Linked DNA regions of Homo sapiens: regions 2, 3 and 4 are each linked to region 1. The links are contacts of gene promoters, found by promoter capture Hi-C in blood cells and fetal thymus (Javierre and others, 2016). All regions are on one chromosome and are shown on one strand. Each heading gives the region's core, a stretch centred on a gene start or on the middle of the fragment in contact. The rest is flanking DNA. Distances are from core to core; before and after follow the strand shown.

Evidence for each region. The method cuts DNA at HindIII sites, captures the fragments that hold promoters and counts their contacts. A CHiCAGO score of 5 or more calls a contact.
Region 2: a contact is called between a fragment that was not itself captured here and the fragment with the promoter of PKD1L1 in region 1, in 1 of 17 cell types (total B cells). The highest score is 8.0, in total B cells.
Region 3: a fragment that was not itself captured here is called in contact with the fragment with the promoter of PKD1L1 in region 1 in 1 of 17 cell types (neutrophils); the score reaches 5.0 in neutrophils.
Region 4: a fragment that was not itself captured here is called in contact with the fragment with the promoter of PKD1L1 in region 1 in 1 of 17 cell types (activated CD4 T cells); the score reaches 6.9 in activated CD4 T cells.

The regions. Positions count from the first base shown.
Region 1 is chr7:47,947,094-47,949,874 of GRCh38, forward strand. PKD1L1 (polycystin 1 like 1, transient receptor potential channel interacting) reads right to left here and starts at 1,373. Exons shown (of 57, transcript NM_138295.5): 1 at 1,304-1,373. The coding sequence starts at 1,347. The HindIII fragment of the contact is 5,981 bases long and covers 1,268-2,781 here.
Region 2 is chr7:47,461,720-47,464,500 of GRCh38, forward strand. All of the region lies in intron 4 of TNS3 (tensin 3), which reads right to left. Among named protein-coding and RNA genes, the nearest start is that of SNORD151, 1.7 kb to the right of the region's middle. The HindIII fragment of the contact is 2,328 bases long and covers 193-2,520 here.
Region 3 is chr7:48,285,222-48,288,002 of GRCh38, forward strand. ABCA13 (ATP binding cassette subfamily A member 13) reads left to right here. Exons shown (of 62, transcript NM_152701.5): 20 at 2,739-2,781. Among named protein-coding and RNA genes, the nearest start is that of ABCA13, 120 kb to the left of the region's middle. The HindIII fragment of the contact is 4,638 bases long and covers 1-2,781 here.
Region 4 is chr7:48,235,648-48,238,428 of GRCh38, forward strand. All of the region lies in intron 8 of ABCA13 (ATP binding cassette subfamily A member 13), which reads left to right. Among named protein-coding and RNA genes, the nearest start is that of ABCA13, 66 kb to the left of the region's middle. The HindIII fragment of the contact is 2,152 bases long and covers 258-2,409 here.

The DNA of each region.
Region 1 (2,781 bases), core at 123-2,622:
AAAATTGTAGCCAAAATCAGACAATGCTTGGCAGCAGTGAGTGACATAAGGCAAAGAAATTTCCAAGCATGAATGTGACCAACCCCGTCAACACGTGCAGCCTCATTTTCTCATCCTGGTTTGCTTTGGGTTTCTTTGATAAAATGATGGTGATGGCACAAAGACAGTAAGCTAACAAAGGCAGAAATGCTGACAGCAAGCATTCATCAAGGATACTGATTTTTATAACGACCCTCTGGAGTTTACAGATGTGACAACAGGGGTACTCAGATTTTCAGGATGAGAAATCTGGGGGTGAGGAGGTAAAGTGACCTGCAGTGGCGGGGTACCCCACTGGGCAAGATCTGCAGGCACAGGCTCCCATCATGCCAGGCCAGGGGACAGCGGTGACCCACCTGGGTCCTTACCACATCCCACAGGCAGGTCACCTTGCTGGCCTCACGCCCAGGAAAGGGGGCATGGAGGTTTGCACCATGTCACACTGCCATGAGACAGTCAACAGCAGAGCACACAGGCTGCCCAGCCTCAACAACACATGGGTGCTGGCGCGCACAGAGCATGGGGAAGAGGGTTTAGAAATAAGACCCATGGAGGCTGGGTGCGGTGGCTTATGCCTGTAATCCCAGTACTTTGGGAGGCCAAGGCGGGCAGATCACAAGGTCAGGAGATCGAGACCATCCTGGCTAACACAGTGAAACCCCGTCTCTACTAAAAATACAAAAAATTAGTCGGGCGTGGTGGTGGGCGCCTGTGGTCCCAGCTACTTGGGAGGCTGAGGCAGGATAAATGGCATGAACCCAGGAGGCAGAGCTTGCAGTGAGCCAAGATCGCACCTCTGCACTCGAGCCTGGGCAACAGAGAGAGACTCCGTCTCAAAAAAAAAGAAATAAGACCCCTGGGCCAAGACCCCATGATCTCTTCCTGTGCCAGGTTTCTCCTGGTCTCCATGCAAGGGACCTAGCAGACAAGCAGATAGCTTAACTTTGTCTACTACCAGGCAGCAGAAAGTCCTCGAACTTGGAAGGTATCCTGCATTTGCAGGAAGAGCAATCAGCACTTCTCATGGCTGAAGGCATCCGCTTGGAGGAGTCTTCTCAAAAGCCTTCAGGAAAAAACTCCATTCTCAACACCAACTCCAACCTCTGAACTGACCCCGCCGGCCAAATGCACCCTCCTGGTACAGGGCCTCCACTCGTGCCAGAGTGAGCCCACATCCTAGAGGTGATGACTTTTGAAAGAAAATTTCTGAATGCATACTTTAAAATCAAGCTTACCAAACCCTCTGAGAACAGTGATAACTCACCTTTCCTGGTCATCAGAAATGTTCTGGGCTGCCTCCTCGGCCATGTCCTGTGCAAGCTGGTCACAAGTATGACAGTCAGCAGACCAGCTTCTTCCTACATCCTCTGGAAGACAAAGAAATAGAGCTTAATGCTTCCAGCTTCTGTACTTGTGACCTCTTATCAGGACACACATCAAACACAGAGGGAAAAATCCAAACTCCAGTAACATTTTCCCAAGCAGAAACAGCTTTTGTTTTCCTAACACTGTCAGACAAATTCCTTCCTAAGAAGTGTGCTTTTGACAGACGTGGTGGCTCATGTCTGTAATCCCAGCAATTTGGGAGGCCAAGGTGGGTGGATCACTTGAGGCCAGAAGTTTGAGACCAGCCTGGCCAATATGGTGAAACCCCGTCTCTACTAAAAATACAAAAATAGCCAAGTGTGGTGGCACACATCTGTAATCCCAGTTACCCAGGAGGCTCAGGCGAGAGAATTGCTTGAACCTAGGAGGTGGAGGTTGCAGTGAGACGAGATTGCACCACTGTGCAATAGAGTGAGACTCTGCCTCAAAAACAAAATGAAACAAAACAAAACAAAACAAAAGTGTGTTTTAGGTAGGGATCTTTGTGGCTGCCTGAAACAGATCACTACTCAAGGGAGAGACTGTACATGGAAGCTGAGAGAAGTCTGAGAATAAAAAGCTGTAACTGTTGGCTGGGCGCGGTGGCTCACGCCTATAATCCCAACACTTTGGGAGGTCGAGGTGGGCGGATCACGAGGTCAGGAGCTCGAGACCAGCCTGGCCAGCATAGTGAAACCCCGTCTCTACTAAAAATACAAAAATTAGCCAGGCATGGTGGCACGCACCTGTAGTCCCAGCTACTCGGGAGGCTGAGGCAGGAGAATTGCTCGAAACCGAGAGGCGGAGGTTGCAGTGAGCCGAGATCGTGCCACCACACTCCAGCCTGGGCAACAGAGCGAGGCTCTGTCTCAAAAAAAAAAAAAAAAAAAAAAAGCTGTAACTGTCCACAACTGCACTGGGGAACAGGATACCTTCCACAAGAGCAGAAGAGCATTCCTAAGGAAGGCTGGCAAGGCACACACTAGGCGCACTCTGTCTTACGGCAGAACCTAGGAATGATCTGGTTCCGAACCTCCTGCACCTCTCCTTGTTTGCAACTGGCGGGTCAGACTGAGTTCTCTCCATTACGAAACATTTTCTCTTATATTTTTAAAGCACTTGTTAGTTGTCTTAGTTCTTTATACCAACATTTAAACCTTCAGAGATTTTAGAAAACTTAATGTTTTACTCAGAACACTAGATATTTTTTCTCTCCACTCTGAAGAGAGTGATACCAAGAAGAGTGGGAACGTTTTCAGGCACAAGCTCTTTCTCAGATGGGAACACAGACCCCTTGAACAATGATGAACCAAGCTACGGGTGTCCGGCCTTGGATCCTGTGTTTTCTGGAACTTTGCTGCCAATGAGGTGAGTAAC
Region 2 (2,781 bases), core at 107-2,606, 490 kb before region 1:
TAATTGCAGAGCTTAATAAAATACTGCAGAAATCAATGAAATGTGAGCAAAAAAGGATTTGTTACTGCTGCAAACACTGAAGTTTTTGAGAGCCTTGCGTGAGGCAGTCAGTAAAACTCATCAAATTTCTGTAGGGCAGCTGGGGCAGAGTCCAGAGGATTTCTATGCTCCAATTATTCCTAAGTATCTTTAAGCTTTCTTACACTCTGAGGAACCCCAAATGGGAAATTTCAATGACTCATTGTAGATGTACACTATGTAAAAACAGGACAGGGAACCCCAGACCCTGGAGAGAACTCAAAGACAGGGTGGGATGGTACGTCAAAGACAGGTGGCTACTTTTACCGGTTTTCAGACACAATGGAATCCTAAATGAAAGGTTCAGGATTCCGCAAGTTAACTGATACTTCAGTTCAATAATCACTTATAAATTCTGATCCCTTTAAATGACAGATTCTGCCTGGATGTGAAGCCAAATGCATAGTAAGTGACATGCAAGCAGCAATGACCCTCCTCGTTGCCCCTGTATTAATACCAGTAACGATCATTGTCACAGCAAGTTATTCCACATCCACTCTATTCCTGACATAATGCAACATGATTTGCTTGTATTCTCTCTCCATCCTTGTAGCAGCCTGCTGAGCAAGGAACCCTTATCATCCCCACTTTCAAACAGGCATAAGCCACTGCGCCTGGCCGAGGTTATGTGTTGATCAGTTCGTGAAAACACTGTGACTAGAGCTCGCAGGACCCTAACCCTTTATTTCTCCTAGAGACAGAAGCTCAGTGTTGGCTAAATCAGTGTTTGCAGCAACTTTATCGAACATGACTACCACCAATAATGAGAATCTACTGTAATTGATTAGGTATTGACTAGGGTTCCATAGTAAGACAGCCCCATTGTCAGGCTGTCACTTCATCTAGTTCAAACCCAGGACCAGGCTTGCCCACCTGAGGCCATTTGCAGCAAGGGGAGTGCTAGGACACAGGCCAGGTCTGTCTTAGCTTTCACTCCACCACGAGGGACCATCGACTTTTCTACCTCCCTAGAACTCCACAGCCAAGACTAGTTAGCCCTCTGCCCTGATTCCTCCCCGCTGTGCCTCTCTTCTCCCTGCCTCTCCGGTTTGTAAGCAAATTGCCTATCATAGGTTCACAGAAGGCAGCCAGAAAGTGGGCTGGGATCTGTTCTCTCAGATAGTAAAGCTCAGGGAAAGAATCATTAAGTGAAAACCTGACAATGAGGCTGTCCTACAATGGACCCTAATCAATGCCTAATCAATTACAGTTGATTTTCGTTATTGGCAGTAGTTGTGTTCTATAAAGTTGCTGCAAACACTGATTTGACCAACACTGAGCTTCCGTCTCTAGGAGAAATACAGGGTTAGGGTCCTGCGAGCTCTAGTCACAGCATTTTCACCAACCGCTTCAAGGCATAACCTTGGCCGGGTGCAGTGGCTCACACCTGTAATCTCAGCACTTTGAGAGGCCTAGGCAGGTGGATCACCTGAGGTCAGGAGTTCGAGACCAGCCTGGCCAATGTGGTGAAACCCCATCTCTACTAAAAATGTACAAATTGTCGGGAGTGGTTGTGCATGCCTGTAATCCCAGTTACTCAGGAGGCTGGGGCATGAGAATCACTTGAACCCAGGAGGCAGAGGTTGCAGTGAACCGAGATCATGCCACAGCACTCCGGCCTGGGTGACAAAGAGAGACCCTAATTTAATAAATACTGTGGATTCATTAACATGAAACTCTCAGCCATTGGTGCTGTAACTCACACCTGAAGGAAGGACTGTCTAACACATGCGCTTTCTCCACCAGGCACAGGACAGTCATCTTGTGCTTAGGGACACTGGACATCACATCAGCACTACACTTGCATTTTAAACAGCATAATCAACAACAGAAGCACAAAAATGGGGGAAATGTGGCACTAAATAGACTGTGGAAAGGATGCCTGTCTGCAGTATGAGTTGAAACAAGGAAGAGCTTTGCTTTGTTCAGTGTCAGACGGGAACATGCAGGTGGGCAACCCGAATTTTGAGTCTTTTTGTTCATGTCTTCAAATGACCACAAAATTGTCCTTGGTATTGATTTTGGTGTTACAAATAAATTGTATCCAGGAGGCTAATTTGCAAATATGGAATCCACAAGTAATGAAAATCAACTATAATTTAATCTTCAAATTTGTAGATTTAAAATTGCTAGAAACTTGCCAGTTTCTAATTCTAATGCCCCCACTTAATACACCTGTTACTCTAACATTATTAAAAGGGCCGTAATCACAGCCTAGTCCACCCGTAATTTTTATCTACCTGACTCTACTTCTTCATCCCTAGGATGCCTCATGCTGCTACAGAAAGCAAAGCCTTAGAGGAATCCTTCCTCCTGACAAGGAAGCTCCAGGGTGGCAAGTTCAGGCTGCAGATGCCTTCTTCTAAAGACGTGCACTTCTTTTCCAGATTTATGTTCCCTACCTGAGGACCTCTATTGATTTGGCAATGCCTTGCCTTGAGAAGCTTACAGCATTTTCTAGGCAAACACACTGAGGACTCTGGCATCAGAATATTTTCTGGAGCACGTACGACAGAAGCCAATAGTCATCTGCCCGGGATGGAAAGAAGAAAGGCATCAGAGAATGTGAGTTTCTCAGGTGGAAGGAAATCATAAACGTCAGGTCACCCAAACCCCAGAGGCCGCCGAGTTCTCAGTAACCCTACGCCCCGAGCACCCTCAACACCCCTAGGATTGCTCAAGGTGGCCCCGGGTGGCAGCCCC
Region 3 (2,781 bases), core at 124-2,623, 340 kb after region 1:
ATGGGGCTGAAGGGAGGAGAGGAAAGGGGTCCAGAGAGCGCTGGCAGATCTGGAAAGCCAGAGTGGGTCTGAATGTGTCCTTGGAGCCAAGAAGAGGGGCCACAGCAAGTAGGAAGGGCTGGAGCCAGGGATTGGGAGAGGCAATGAGAGGTGGAGAAAGAGGGTACCCGGGAAAGTTGGAGGAGTCAAGGCTCAAAACCAGCTCTTGTTAGTGTCGAGACAGTTGTCAAGTGTCCTTGAGGGTGGTGCCTTTGAGGGCAGGCTTCAAGACGTGTTAGATGTGAGGCACATGGAGGCCAGATGGCCTGACAGCCCAGCACTGCATCCCATGATCATATCATCCCTGACCTAACCTTGCAGGAATGCTGGGCTTGGTCACTGTCGACTCCACGTTGTCATTTTACATTGAGGAAGCAAGGGGCTGACACAGCCCACAGCTTGCCTGATGCCATACATTACATCAGCTTTTTCAGGGTGCATTCTCTGCTCTTTTAGGTTTGAACAACATAACTTATAAACACATTATTGTGTCTTCCCGAGACCAGAGGATATGTTTATGCTTAAAGATAAGTGCTGTGATATATAACAGCACATTATTACCTTCATTTCAAATTTTAATAAGAGATTACTTAAGTGACACATTTTATATTTCCTACAATAAAGATACCTGTCTTTGAAATTAGTAAAATAAGATTAATGAGAAAAGAAAAACAAATAAGGCATCAAGGTGGGTTGCTTCTGGAAAGCATGACTTTGGATATATTGTGTCTACTCTGCATTTTATGTGGTTGAAAACTGTTTTAGTAATTAATAAATTTTATATTTTAGAGTAGTTTTAGATTCGCAGCAACCTTGAATGGAAGGTGCAGGGATTTCCCATATACTCCCTTCCCCACCATAGCCTCCCTCATTATCAGAGTGGCACATTTGTTACAATTGATGAACCCACACTGACACAGCATCATTCCGAGTCCACAGTTCACATTGGGCTTCACTCTTGGTGTTGTCATTCTATGGGTTAGGACAAGCATATAATGACATACATCCAGTGTTACAGTATCACACACAGGGTTTTACTGCCTGAAAAATCCTCTGTGCTCTGCCCATTCATCTCTCCCACCCCTCTAGCCCCTAGCAACCACGGATCTTTTTACTGTCTCCATAGTTTTTGTCTTTTCCAGCACGTCATTGAGTTGAAATCATACAATATGTAGCCTTTTCAGATGGGCTTCTTTCACTTAGTAATATGCTGGAACTGTTTTTTCCCTTCCTTCCTTCCTTCCTTCCTTCCTTCCTTTTTTCAGACAGAGTCTCGCTCTGTCGCCCAGGCTGGAGTGCAGTGGTGCGACCTCAGCTCATTGCAACCTCTACCTCCTGGGTTCAAGCAATTCTCATGCCTCAGCCTCCTGAGTAGCTGGGATTACAGGTGCCCGCCACCATGCCCGGTTAATTTTTGTATTTTTAGTAGAGACGGGGTTTTACCACATTGGCCAGGATGGTCTCGATCTCCTGACCTCGTGATCTGCCCAACACGGCCTCCCAAAGTGCTGGGATTACAGGCGTGAGCCACCGTGCCTGGCTCAGAACTTTTTATAAAGGACTTTTGAGAAACAATTTATTATTCATAATTTAAGAGTCAGGATAACATTTTTTTTTCTAATTAAAAAAAGATTTTATTTCTTATAAAAATGTATTTTATTTTCTGTCATGACCAAGCATCTAGGAGGTACAAAGCCCTGTGCTAGGTGCCACAATGACAGGAAGGCAGTGATAAGAAAATTTGCCCGTGGCAGGTCTTGTGCAGATGGATTTATCGTGCGGTGGGAGGTGAGCACACAGGCATCTGCGCAGCAGGGAGGGGAGGGGCTTTGCTCAGCCTGGGAAAGGTGGGTGTCTGGAGGCAGAACTCTAAAAGATACGTAGGTTCAGGAAGGGAGAGTGATGCCTTGTATCTGATGGCCTTGAGGAGACAGGAGGGACATAGGGCATGACTGCAGAGAGGTGGAGGCACCTGAGGCTGCGGAAAGACATTGGATGCAACATGGAGCCTTTGCACAGATTCCTGTAATGGGGGATCTCCTTTGGGGAAGAGCCTTGTGGATCAGAGCGTAAGGCAGATTGGAAGGGTGAGGTGGGAGTGGGACTGTTAAGAGCACAGCAGTTTCCTGGGCGTGATCTATGGGTGCTGGACAGACGCACAGATGGAGAGACATTGGGAGGTCATGCTGAGCAGATGGGGAGGTTGGTTGGCTGTGAGGACCAGGGGGAGGAGAGTCATGACTGGCTTCCAGGAAGTGACTTGTGAGGCATGGGGCATGGAGAAGACCACACATAGACAGTGTGTAATTCATCCTTCAAACTGGGGCACTTTTGAGAATGACAGAGGGCACTGTTCATAACCATGCAAGAATAGGTGAAAAGCAAGTCTGTCCTGGGCAAACTGGGGTGAATGGGTACCCCACTTGTAGGGGATACAGGGAAAGGAGCCAGTTTGAGGAGGTAGAGATAATTAATATTTACAAAATCAATTAGGCCCAGAAAAGCAAAATCTTTATTTTATTACATTTGGAACTCAAAAGGCACAGCTTTACCCTCATCATCTGAATGTTCATCTTGATGATTTAAGAAATGTTTAGGAATTTGTATCACTTTGAATCTTTAAAAAGTGATTTTGTGAGAGTGGCTAGTTCAGGAGAGGACTGTCTATTAATTATTTCTCTGTGTGTTTCCTCTGGCAGAAAACCCTTCCTGGACCAAGGACATTTTGTGTGCTACTCTGAG
Region 4 (2,781 bases), core at 84-2,583, 290 kb after region 1:
CTTGAGGTCAAGGGGACATACTGTTGTGGGGGAGGAAAAATTCTTTTTTTCTCTATTATTCCATCTTCAATGGCTGGGGCTCATGAATTAACCTGATAAAAGACAGATAAAGAAGAGGAAAACCAGTTATTGTGTAGGTATGTATGGGAGTTCACAAAGAGAAATGTGTAGATCTTCCCTGATGACCATTCTGTTTTTCACTTTCAGTATAGTATTCAATAAATTACATGAGATAATAAATACTTTATTATAAAATAAGCTTTGTGTTAGATTATTTTTCCAATTGTAGGCTAATGTATGTGTTCTGAGCACAGTTCAGGTAGGCTAGGTTAAGTTTGGTTATGTTTTGAGGTTGGGTGTACTAAATGTATTCTTGGCTTATGATATTTTCAAGTCATGATGGGTTGATGAGGATGTAACCTCATTGTAGATCAAGGATCACCTGTATTTTAAGGAAGCAGCCAGATTATTAAGGCTTATATGCCATCCAAGGCTATCTATACAAAGGAAAGGGGGCTTGGGGTTTCTGAGTAGCAAGGCAAGTTATGGGAAGGTGAGGGGAGGAAATATATGGTGAATGAGTTATCCTGTTTTGCAGAGAAATCTCCCAGGTGATCAGAGTTATTTGGAGAAGCAGCTCTCTTTTTGGTAGGAGACATCTTTACAGATGAAAATTATCTTAATAATGTAAATTTTCTTTATAAATCTAAATTTCCTTTACCAAAAGGAAATTTATACTCTATTTTTAAACAGTTAGGGAACGGTAAGAAGTTTTTCCTGCCTCTGCTGGTTTTCAGTTTGTCTTTAGCTCAAAATAATCCATATGCCAAAGAAACATACTTTGGGGTGGCGTATTCTGTTTTCTTGCTTTTTCCAGCTTCCAGTGGCCATCCACATTCCTTGGGTCTGAGCCTCTTTCTCAATCATCAAAGCCAGCAATGGCAGGTCTAGTTCTTCTCATATCCCATCACTTGGGCACTGACATTTTTGCCTCCTTTCTCCAATAAAAACCCTTGTGGTTACACTGGGCTCACCAGGTTACCCAGGATAATCGCCCATCTCAAAGCCAGGTGATAAGTAGCCTTAATTTCATCTGCAGCCTTAAATCTCACTTGCCATACAACATAACATATTCATGGGCTCTTGGGATTGGGACATGGACATCTTGGGGGAACATTGCCTGCTTCCCACCCTTCGTAAGTGTAATTGCCTGGTGAGCTCTTCCTGCCCACTGCACAGACAAAACCAATTCATTGAGACTGCAGTATTGCAGTAGAGAAAGGGTTTAATTAATGCAGAGCTAGCCAAGGGAAAAAACTGGAGTTATTACTCAAATCAGCCTCCTTGAGAACTCAGAGGGTAGGGTTTTTTTTTTTTTTTTTTTTTTGGATAATTTGGTGGGCAGGGGACTAGGAAATGAGTTTCGCCGATTGGTTGGGGATGAAATCACAAGGATGTGGAAAAATGCAAAAGTCTGAAAAACGTCTCAAGAGACCAATCTTGGGTTTGACAATAGTGATGTTATCTATAGGAGCAATTGAGGAAGTCACATATCTTGTGATCTTTGGCCCCATGACTCCTGAGCAGCAAGGGATTATAGAAGGCAAGCTAGGGACCAGTGGCTGATTATCATTTAGCTACACCTACATTTTAGCAGCATTCAAGCCACTCTCATAATCTTAATCTTGTGGCCTTTTATTAGTCTTACAAGGGCAGGTTCTGTACCTGAGAAATGAGGGGATTCATCTTAGGGAGGGACTACTATCAACCTTGCTAAAAAGTTAAACTACAAACTAAATTCCTCCCATGGTTAGCTTGGTATATGCCCAGGAGTGAGCAAGGACAGCCAGCCTCTGAGGCTAGAAGCAAGGTGGAGTCAGCCATGCTAGACTTCTCTCACTCTCATAATCTGCAAAGGTGGTTTCACAGGGCCCTTTCCATCTGCATCAGCCTGTGAGCCTAGGCCCTCCCTGGGGTCTGTCTGACTCCTGACCCTGTCACTCTCTGGGCCTGCTGGGGGCCTCAGCACATGCTGCCCCTGCAAGAGAATAGTCCTCCTCTTTCCCTGCCTCTGCCTCCTGAATTGGAAAATGATTTATCTAACCTCACATCCTCTGTGGATCTCCTGTGACCTCACTTCAGCCTCTGCCTCTACTTCTTCAACCTTCTATAATAGGGCATGTCCCAGGGAGCCTGATGGCTGCATATCTGCCTCTCATAGGCTGTGAGCATCTGAGTGGGGACTTGGCCTTATCTATCTAACATGATACATGGTATTGTTGATTATTTTTAATTAAGGGAAAAAAATAGAACAAAACATCAGGGACCCTGTGCTTTGACAGTCACAGGTTAATATTTTAAATCCTGATCCAAAAGGAACCTAAAAGTGAACACATGGGACTAAAATTAAGCTTTCTGACTATTGTCATTGTTTAGTCAATTCAGGCTGTTATAACAAAAGACCACAGACTTGTAAACAACAGAAATTTATCTTGGTGTGTCCTCACGTGGTAGAAGGGGTAAGGGAACTCCCTGGGTCTCTTTTATCAGGGTGCTAATCCCATTCACAAGTGTTCACCCTCATGATCTGACCAGCTCCCCAGGGCCCCATCTCCTTATACCATCACCTTGGGGGCTAGGATTTCAAAATACGAATTTTGGCGGGGAGGCCACAAGCATTTAGACCATGGCAGTCACCAACAGAATCTCTTAAAGATGGCATTATAATTGTTGTAAAATGATGTAATAGGGGAATGTGCTTCATTATATCATAAACATAAG